Regions from separate parts of the Homo sapiens genome. Here region 2 is linked to region 1. Evidence: promoter capture Hi-C in 16 types of primary human blood cells and fetal thymus (Javierre and others, 2016). All regions are on one chromosome and are shown on one strand. The core of a region is centred on a gene start or on the middle of the fragment in contact, and the rest is flanking DNA. Distances in the headings are between cores, read along the strand shown. Region 1 holds the start of THADA (THADA armadillo repeat containing). Region 2 holds the start of KCNG3 (potassium voltage-gated channel modifier subfamily G member 3).

Region 1 (4,835 bases), core at 1,610-4,109:
TCAGGAATAAAAACAGGTCAATAAACTGGAATAACGAGCAATATGAAATTTACCAAGATGAAACAGAAATAAATACAAAGGGCTGCATTTAGTTTAGGGGAAAAAAACACAGAAAGAGAGGCTGGAGAGGCAAAACGTGGTTTGAAACAGCTCAACAGCCCAAGATGACTGCCAAAAACCACAGAAGTCAGCCATATCAGAGTGCATGATTTTATTCAAACAGGCCAGGTGACATGTAGAGCATTAGGTACAGCGCTGGCGGCCATACTCTAAGGAGCCATAACAAACAATGGAACTATTTCTGAAGGACCTAGAGAGCACCTCCTTCAGAGAACAGCTCAGTTAACCAAAGGTGTTTGGCCTGGAGAAAAAGTCAACAGAACAAGAGCCTTAAAACAGCTGCTAGACTGTTTTGGAGAAAAAGGGAATAGATTTATTTGTCTACTACAGACTTTTTTTTTTTTTTTTTTTTTGAGACGGAGTCTTGCTCCTTCGCCCATGCTGGAGTGCAGTGGCGCGATCTGCGCTCACTGCAAGCTCAGCCTCCTGGGTTCAGGCCATTCTCCTGCCTCAGCCTCCCGAGTAGCTGGGACTACAGGCGCCCGCCACCACGCCCGGCTAATTTTTTCTATTTTTAGTAGAGACGGGGTTTCATCATGTTAGCCAGGATGGTCTCGATCTCCTGACCTCGTGATCCACCCACCTCGGCCCCCCAAAGTGCTGGGATTACAGGCGTGAGCCACCGCGCCCAGCCTTAGACTTCTTGTCTTGCTATTAGATTAGTAAAAGTCAGTACAAGCTACAGGGAAACAGATTCCAGATCAATACAAAGGAAAAGCTCTATGGTCCCACTAAGGACTGGGCTACCTTTTAAACAAAGAAATTTTCCAACACCAGGAATATTCAAAGAGAAGATGACTGAATATTTTCTCTTGGACTCCTGAAACAGCTCCCTAACTGGTCTCCTGACTTCTACACTTACCTCCAAAGAGCCCATTCTGTTTACAATCATCAAAGCAATCTCTTTAAAAAAAACTCTCATCAAATTGAATTACTTACTCTCTTCCTTAAAACTTTCCAAGGGTTTCTAAATACACTTAGAATAAAATTCAAACTTGAGGCCAGGAGTGGGGGCTCGTGCCTGTAATCCCAGCACTTTGGGAGGCCGAGGCGGGTGGATCTCCTGAAGTCAGGAGTTCAAGACCAGCCTGGCCAACATGGTGAAACCCCGTCTGCACTAACTAAAAATACAAAAATTAGCCGGGTGTGGTGGCAGGCGCCTATAACCCCAGCTACTCCGGAGGCTGAGGCAGGAGAATGGCTTGAACCCAGGAGGCAGAGGTTGCAGTGAGCCGAGATCGTGCCACTGCACTCCAGCCTGGGAGACAAGAGCGAAACTCCATCTCAAATAAATAAATAAATAAATAAATAAATAAATACTTGAGATTTTGCCCTTCAAGGCCCTAAATAATCTGACCCTGCCTTCCTCCACTCTTCATCTCAAACCAATCTCCTCTTCACCATCTCAAGAGCTTTGTACTTCCTGATGCTCTTATTCCCACCTAAGAGGCTTTACACTTCTCAGTATCTCTGCCCCTTAATGTTCATTCCACATCTTTGCAAGACTGACTCCTTCTCACCATTCATGTTTCTGCTGCAACATTACCTTCTAAAAGCCTTCCATGACCACTCTATCTAAAATCTCACCAATACAACACACGTAGACACCATTTCCGTTAATTTTCTTCATAGCACTTACTAGTACCAGAAATTACCCTAACTTGTAAATTTGTATATTGTCTGTCTCACCTAGTAGCAAACTGAATGAAGGCAGCAACTTTAATCTATTTTGTTCATGTTTCAAGTCTCAATTTCCAAACCAGTGCCTGGCACATAGTAGGTGTTTAACAAACACTTCACGAATAAACAAATTAATTAACAAACATTTGTCAGAGATGTTCTAGAAGGGATATATGTCTTTAAGGGCAGGAAGGTGGACTATCTGGTACCTAAAATGCATTCTACATCTAAGTGACATTCTACATCTTAAGAACCTATGGTCTGTTTGGGAAGTAAGAAATCCATACAGTAATGGCAGGTGAGCAACCACTTAACCAAAAATGGACGCAGCTAGGAAAGTGTCGACAACAGAATAATTTGTAAAGGGATAGTCAGATCTAGAGGAATAGAGGCACGCTTCCTAAGAAAGTGACCATCGTACAAAGCCAGAAGAGACTGGGAAACCTAACTAGGGAGACTATTCTCTGGTGAAAGGTAAGCAAGTTTGCAGGAGGATTTGCTCTTGCAATTCTGAGGGCTACACAAAAGCAGACTCGGTAATTATGCCTGCTCAAATGATGCCTAAACGTGTGTCCTGAAGAACCAGGGTCCCCAAGGGGGTAAATCCCGTGTCTACCGCAAGGCCAGAAGGTGCCCAGTAAATTACACTCCTCCTAGGTCCCACTTACTGCTTCCCTTTAGAACGCTGCTTCACTCTACACCTTCCTGGCTGACTCCCACAAACATTCTCTGGGCGATTTCTGAACCACGTGGAGTCGAGGAATGACAGTGGGAGAAAGTGGTTAAAGTGCTGTCTCCATGGAGACCTTAGCGACCGGAAATCAGTTTCACAGCCGCCGAATCCTGGCGATACCAAAGGATGGGAATTGGTGTGGCTCGCCAGGCAGCCCTAGCAAAACTGGCCGAGCCGAGCTACCGCGGGTCTGGCAGGCAGGACACCTGGGAGCCAAACCTCGTGCACGTCGGCGTCTGAGAAGAGTCGCAGGCGCCTGGTCCAGTCCCGGAAGCAGGTCTCCTTCTACGGCGTCTCCGAGGCTCGCAGCGCGGTCCACGGTCGACTACCGGGTCAGGGCAAAGGGAGGGAGAGAGGGGTAACCTGGAGGAGTCATCGCGAGAATTGACCAAACGCAGCTCCTCCAATCAGGAGTTCGAGGAGGTCGTGACGTCACCGGGGTGGCCGGTAGCAATCCGGTTTAGTTAACCAGCCACTGTACCGTCAGCGCCGCGCGTTCCTCATGGCGTTAGGGCTGACGGGCCTTGTTGCTGAGGGGCCTTCATTCAACGGTCTCTTGTTGAATGAAAAGACCTCATTCTCTTCACATGCTTGGACGCCTGGGAAGCGCTTTTCTCCCAATCCAGACCTTCCACCTTTCTCCCACTCTGTTGGCCCAGTGCAGAGTCTAGGAGAAAACTACGTCTGGGACTCGGGAACGAGTCCAGGGAGTTTAGAGCCTGCGAGATGGGGCAGGGGTTTGGGCGGCGACTGAACGGAAGCCACGAGAAGGATTCGGACTAAAATGAGTAGTGCTGAACCAACGTGTGCCAAAGCGCATATATTCATTCAATAGATAATGAACTCTACTGTCAGAGCGTCGCCAAGCGCTAGCCTTGAAAGCTATCCCCTACTGAGGATACATGTATTACGCAGCACATACAAATTGTCAGATGGTTCAGTCCTTGAAAAATAAATACAATAACGGGGTGTCACTGGGAGCTGCGACAGTGGGCAAGATCAGGAAAGACCTGATGCTATTATCAGGAGTATTAATTTGGAAAATAGAGACATTTCAGTTCTCTAAACGTTAATGACTTAAGTTTTTAATAATTATTTTCTGAATTTTTTATATCAGCTTGCCTTGGTTTTCTTTATAGCTTTACCACATAATGTATGTATCACTATCTTGTTTCGTTCAATTTTGAAGCTTTTGGAATTGCGTATGTATTCTCCAGCAATTTGCTTCTTTCAGCATTGCTTTTCATATTCACCTACAGGTGGCTGTAGTGCTCTTCGCCCAGGCTGGAGTGCAGTGGCGCGATCTCGGCTCACTGCAAACTCTGCCTCCCGGGTTCAAGTGATTCTCCTGCCTCAGCCTCCTAAGTAACCGGGATTACAGGCGCGCGCCACCACGCTCAGCTAATTTTTGTATTTTTTAGTGGAGACGGGGTTTCACCATGTTGCTCATGCTGGTCTTGAACTCCTGACCTCGTGATTCGCCCGCCTCGGTCTCCAAAAGTGCTGGGATTACAGGCGTGAGCCATGGCGCCCGGACCGTAATTTTCCATTGTTTAATATACTTCATTATGTATCCATCCTGCTGCCTCTTAACATGTGCATTATTTCCAGTTTTTGTTCTAAACATTGCTGCTGTGAACTATGTTGTGCATGTCAGCTGGTGAGTGTGTGCAGACGGTTCTCCACCATAATTTTTTCTGGTATTTTTGACCCTGACATAGTAAGAAATACATTGCAGACTTTGAAACTGTGGACGTAGAAGTACTCACACATAACTGAAGTAAAAATTTCTTGAAATGCTACTTTACAGGAGCTGTGAGATTTTATTTCCTTTTTTTCTAAATTATGGTAAAATACACAGCAAAATTTACCATTTTAACCATTTTTAAGTTTTATGTTTTTTAAAATATGTATATTGTTTCAGACCTACTAATTATATAACTCAGTGGGTCCGAACCCCTTTTTTGTTGGCAGACACTGCAACTCTTCACCCTGCACAGCGAGAGGTGGGCTAGGGAGCAAACATAATAAACATATGTTGAAAGGTGAAGCTACTGTTAAAACTTCAGACAAATTAAACTTAACAGGGTTTAATTGAGCAAGGGGAAAAATGATTCTCAAATCGGGCAGTCTCCAGAATCATAGCAGATTCAGAGAGACTCCAGGGATGCCTCGTGGTCAGAGCACATTTACAGACAAAGAAAGGAAAGTGATGTACAAAAAGCAAGTGAGGTACGGAAGCAGCTGGATGGGTTACAGCTTGGCATTTGCCTTACCTGAACACAGTTTGAACAGTAAGCAT
Region 2 (4,835 bases), core at 853-3,352, 1.1 Mb before region 1:
TAAGACAGTGTCAAACAGATAAACTATAATATGCAGTTTGGGTTTTGTGCCCCAAAAGGCTGTCTTCTTTGAAAGTCCATCCTTAGTCTGCTTATTCCTCCCACTGAATATGCTCACTTGTACTAAAAACAGGAAAGTGCTATCACCACTTCAAGGTAAGACAGTCTAAGAAAAGACTGCAATATTTTCCCATTCATCCTAGTAAAGTAGAAAAAAAAATTTACCCAAATACTGTTTTCTGGATTTAGGACAGTTTAGATTTTTCTTTGTTCTCAAGGTAATGGTTTTTTCCCTTCCCATATCATAGACCCTCTGAAAGTCGCAGTGTGAATCTTTGCTACCAAACGGTGGACAAGAGGTTTGCTAACTCCATACTTTGTAGGAAAAGGGGGAAGAAAAGGGCACAGACATCCATTATTTAGAGTCTATCGATAAATTAACCTGCTTTATAATATAACGATTCCATTACAGCACATAGTATGCCGGGGGCAGAGTGTATAGAATGTGTGGAGAGTGCACATTTCACCATAACAAGAATCCATCTTTCCAAACACTACCAAAAATTGGCAAATAATTCAAACTGCGCTTAGTTCAAGGCTTAATTGTTGAACCCTAACAATAAAAGTTCAGAAAAATGTAATTAGCAGGTTGCTCTCTGCGCAAAAGTAAACTACAAAGAGGGGACATTTGTCTATCTCTACACGCCCCTCCCCATGCCTGAGGATTTCGCCCTCAAGAGGTGCGTCTAGTGTAAGGGCCAGACCCCGCTGGTGCCCCGGACAACGGGGTAGGAGTGGGGACCGACCGGTCCCGTAGTTGGCCGCGCCTGGGCCTCGCTGGGCGCGCACCCCGCTGGCTCGGTCGCCCGGAGGCGGACAGGACGGAGACGGGACGTATGGACGGGACGGACAGACGCGACAGGACGGACGGGACGGGTAGAGAAGCAGTGCGTCCTACCCGGAGGGCTCCCTCCCAGGGCCGGCGGAGTACCTGCTCCGGTCATCCAGGCTGCGGTTGTCGGCGGCTGCGTTGCGCCAGTCGGGCAACGTGCTGGCGCACAGCACCACCATGGACACGATCACGAACACCACCGACACGCTAGCCAGGATCTGCGCGGCCAGCGACGACGTGGGCTCCTCGAAGGTCCGCCGCATGCGCTCCAGCCAGCGCCTGGAGGGAGCCGCCTCGGCCCCGCCGGGGCGCGCCTCGTCGCGGCCCAGCACGCCCGGCTCGTCGGCCGAGTAGAAGGTGTAGGTGTCGGACATGCGGTCGTCGAGGCGGCGCTGGCAGCAGTACTCGAGGTGCGCGCCCTCCAGGCCCCAGTAGATCATCTCGTTGTAGAAGGAGAGCTCGCACATCCGCGGCGCGAAGCGCAGCTTGCCGTGGCCGCGCACGTAGAGCAGGATGAAGCCGAAGGCCTCCGAGTGCCGGTCGAAGAAGTACTCGTTGCGCTCGCGGTCGTAGTCGTCGCACACCTCGAGCACGTCGCGCTCGGAGCGGCAGCCGTGCAGCCGGCTCACGCGGCGCAGCGGGAAGTCCTTCAGCAGCTCCCGGGACAGCGAATACCGGGCGCCGCCCACGTTCAGCACCACCGAGGCCGCCCCGCTGCGCCCGAAGGTCATGGCTGGCCGCCCGGGGGACTTTCGGCCCGAGGGCCCCGCTGCAGCCCCCCACCCCAAGCCGCCACGCGGGGCCTGCCTGCCCGTGGCTGACGGGGGAGCGCGCCGTCGGGGCCCGCGCTCCCTCGGGGCTCCGCTCCTGCCCTCCGCTGGCCCGGGGGTCCCTGGGCTCGAGTATCTCCGGCGCTGCTAGTAGCGCGCCCTCCGCCCGGCGGTACCTGCGGGTGGCCGGGGAGTCCTCGCCGGCGCCAGCGCTGAGCCCCACCGGCTGGGAACGCGGCTGTGTCCGCGCCGCCGACCCTCGCGCCCGAGGGCTGCGCACACCGAGGCCGCGGTGCCCTCTCCCAAGCCGCGGGGCCGACCCCCTGAGGGCTGCGGGCGCCGAATGGAGCCGCCGGGGCGGAATAGCTCCCCGTCTCCGGCGCTCCCTGCGGCCGCGAATCCGGCGGCCGCCCCGCCGCCGTCCAGAGGCGAGAGGCAAAGTGAGCGGGTTCGGAGGCGGCGAAGAGCCGGCTCGCGGCGGCGGGGGCGGGGCCTCTGTGCAGTCCTCCTCCTCGCCCGCCGGCTCCGCGCGCGCCGCTCACCTCCCTCCGCGCCGCCCTCCGCTTCCCGCCCGCGCCCGCACCTCCCCGGCTTGCTCGGGCTGGGATTCCCGGGCGCCCCGCCCTGGACCTCGGGCTCCCCGCCTCGTGACGCCGTCCTCCCCCTCCGCTCCGGCCCGTAGTGGCGGGGAGGGGTCCGCAGGGCGGGGGAGCGGGGAGCCCAGCGCCGGGATGCCTGCTCCCGCGTCCTGCCCTGGGCCATCGGGATGAATTGGGCAGTCCCCAGGGCCCCTTTTAACAGCCCTGGTTCAAAGCCCAGTGTGGACTCGGGTGCGGGGACAGACGGCGTTTGGAGAGCTTTTTCCAGAAACTGTCCGGAGCCCAGCTCGGGTTCTGACATCGCCCCTAAGGATTTCTCAGGGAAGGCATCCCAGCCACGGCTTTTCCTGCCGACTTTGCTCTTCCTACCGCCGCGCGGGGCGACCCACGTACCGCGTGCTCAGAGGGCGGCTACACGCCCCATCCCCCAGCCTCGGTGCCGCCTGCCAGCCCGCGGAGGGAAGCGGTCCCCGACCCGGCCCCGGCCCCCACGTTCTGGGGCGCGAGTCCTGAGAAGGCGCCTAACGTGTAGCGCGCCTGGACCCTCTCGAGATGCTGCCCTTAGAGTGGGATGAAAGTCTGGGGAGGAACGCCTTGTCACCGGCAAAAACAGCCTTTCTCTTGGTCTTCGTCTGCATCCTCCTTTTCAAAATATCTTGATTTCCCCCGCGCACCCCTGACCCGGCTGCAGCACCGGCCCTCCGAGCGGGAAGAGCCCCGTGAAGGCTCCGCAGAGCGATCTACCCCGCGCTCTTGTCCGTGCCCAGAAAGCGGGTTCCACTTGGCAGGGATTATTTTAAACTGCTACCAGCAATTCATTCACCTGACACCCGACACCGGCAGCCCAGCCCGCCGGAGGCGAGACAGGTGAGTTGTAAGGCGAACCGTGTTAGATGCAAAACAAATACTAGAAGAAAAAAATAAGGGTGGGGTAGGGTGAGATGCGGTCATCTGACCACAGGGTAACCTGGCTGGTTAAAGGGAAGAGTTTTTCATTGCCCTCTACTTTTCGTAATTTTGTAGGATTGTCCGGTGCCCGCTAGAGGTCGCCAAACGGAGTCCTTTTGCGCTGGTTCTTAAGTGGATTCCTAGTGAAAAGGCAGACAACTGAAAATGTGAGTGCTGTCTTTTAAGTAAAATCACTCTCGGTGGCTTCTTAAAGAATGAAAATCTCTGTGAGTTGTTTATCCCCAGACTTGGATAATTTATCTTAAGAGCACTAAATGTGATTAAAAGCTCAAAAACAGGAGTTATTTGCTACTTTAGTATCTACTAAATAGTTTGCTATTCAGTATCTATTTTGCTATTTAGTGTCTACTGGGTAGATACTGCTACTTTGCTGTTTAGTATCTACTAAGTAGATATTAAACAAGAAAAATATCTGTAAGAAAGTGAGTTTCAAGACAGAATTGGAGGTGCTGATGGCCATGAGTTGGCACAGAGAAAGGGCAAAACATTCCTAGTAGCAAAATCTCGAATGTGGAGGTTTAAAGTCTGTGAAGAAGTATAATGCACTTGCCCACTGAAACAATGGGGATCTCAACTGCAGCATTTAAATTGGATCCCATAAGCAATGGAATCCCTGGAGGTTTCCATAGCAGAAATGGCTTGATGAAAGCTTTATTTCAGGAAGATGCCTTTGCACTTTGGGTCATTCTAAGGAGAAGGTCATTTCGCAACCCAGGAATGGGATCCCCAACCCCGTGTCTGTGAAGATGAAGAAGGGTCTGTTCTGAGAAACGCTGAGACCAAGAACTTTGCAGGTCTTGAAGATGGATTTGTTGTAGGACGTGAGGATGGGGAAAAGTTTGCAGATGTGAGCCAGAGATGAGCCTGGCTTGATACCAAGAGCCAATTCATCAGGAAGCCGTTAAAAAATACTTTCTAGAAGCATCACAAGCAATAGAAGACAGAACTATAGTGCCGATTGTTTGCTCTAACATTATTGTAGGGTTTATTTCCTGTGTTCTCTCCGTAGAATCCTTCTACTGTCTGTTGATTGAACCAGTTGAAGAAATATCTCATTTTAAATTACATTTGAGCTTAGAAAACAAATTAATTTGATGACAATACAATGTGTGCCTCCTAGGTATATTTTCATGCGATTTCTTAGAGAGATAGGCTTAAATCATTTCATTTGTTTCAAGAGTAATATTTTTATTTGATTTTAATATCATCAACCACTGCTGCAGCAGCAATACCCAAATCGTTTTCTTAAACAAAGAAAACAGTGATGCAGAAATGATAGGCTTGTCTCAATATAATCTGGTTTAGAGAGCATTCTTAAAGCCAATTCTATTCTTTGTACTTTGAGAAGATAATGTTGAGAAGTATTACATCCAGATTCTCTCCTAGACTCGGGATGGTATTTAGGGTCTTCATATCTAAATCTTTAGAATGCATTACAATTTAAAGGTAGAATTTTAGAGTTTGAAAGAACCTAGAGGTTTTCTAGTTTCAGAACCTAGGAAAAAAAAAAAAAAAAAAAAGCAAATTACTCCCATTTTTTCCTCCCCTCCGAAGTTACAAAGCTTCAGAGATGTGGCTGTAACTAGCCCGAGCATTCCCAGCAGCA

Evidence for each region. The method cuts DNA at HindIII sites, captures the fragments that hold promoters and counts their contacts. A CHiCAGO score of 5 or more calls a contact.
Region 2: a contact is called between the fragment with the promoter of KCNG3 here and the fragment with the promoter of THADA in region 1, in 5 of 17 cell types (monocytes, fetal thymus, non-activated CD4 T cells and 2 more). The highest score is 12.2, in monocytes.

Annotation. Positions count from the first base shown.
Region 1 is chr2:43,593,179-43,598,013 of GRCh38, forward strand. It overlaps THADA (THADA armadillo repeat containing), which reads right to left and starts at 2,860. Exons shown (of 38, transcript NM_022065.5): 1 at 2,753-2,860. The HindIII fragment of the contact is 4,194 bases long and covers 1-3,720 here.
Region 2 is chr2:42,491,880-42,496,714 of GRCh38, forward strand. It overlaps KCNG3 (potassium voltage-gated channel modifier subfamily G member 3), which reads right to left and starts at 2,103. Exons shown (of 2, transcript NM_133329.6): 1 at 958-2,103. The coding sequence starts at 1,622. It also overlaps a transcript of MTA3 not described here. RefSeq lists enhancers at 290-1,047, 1,048-1,805, 3,130-3,424 and silencers at 1,886-1,975, 2,156-2,205, 2,296-2,375. The HindIII fragment of the contact is 17,203 bases long and covers 1-3,876 here.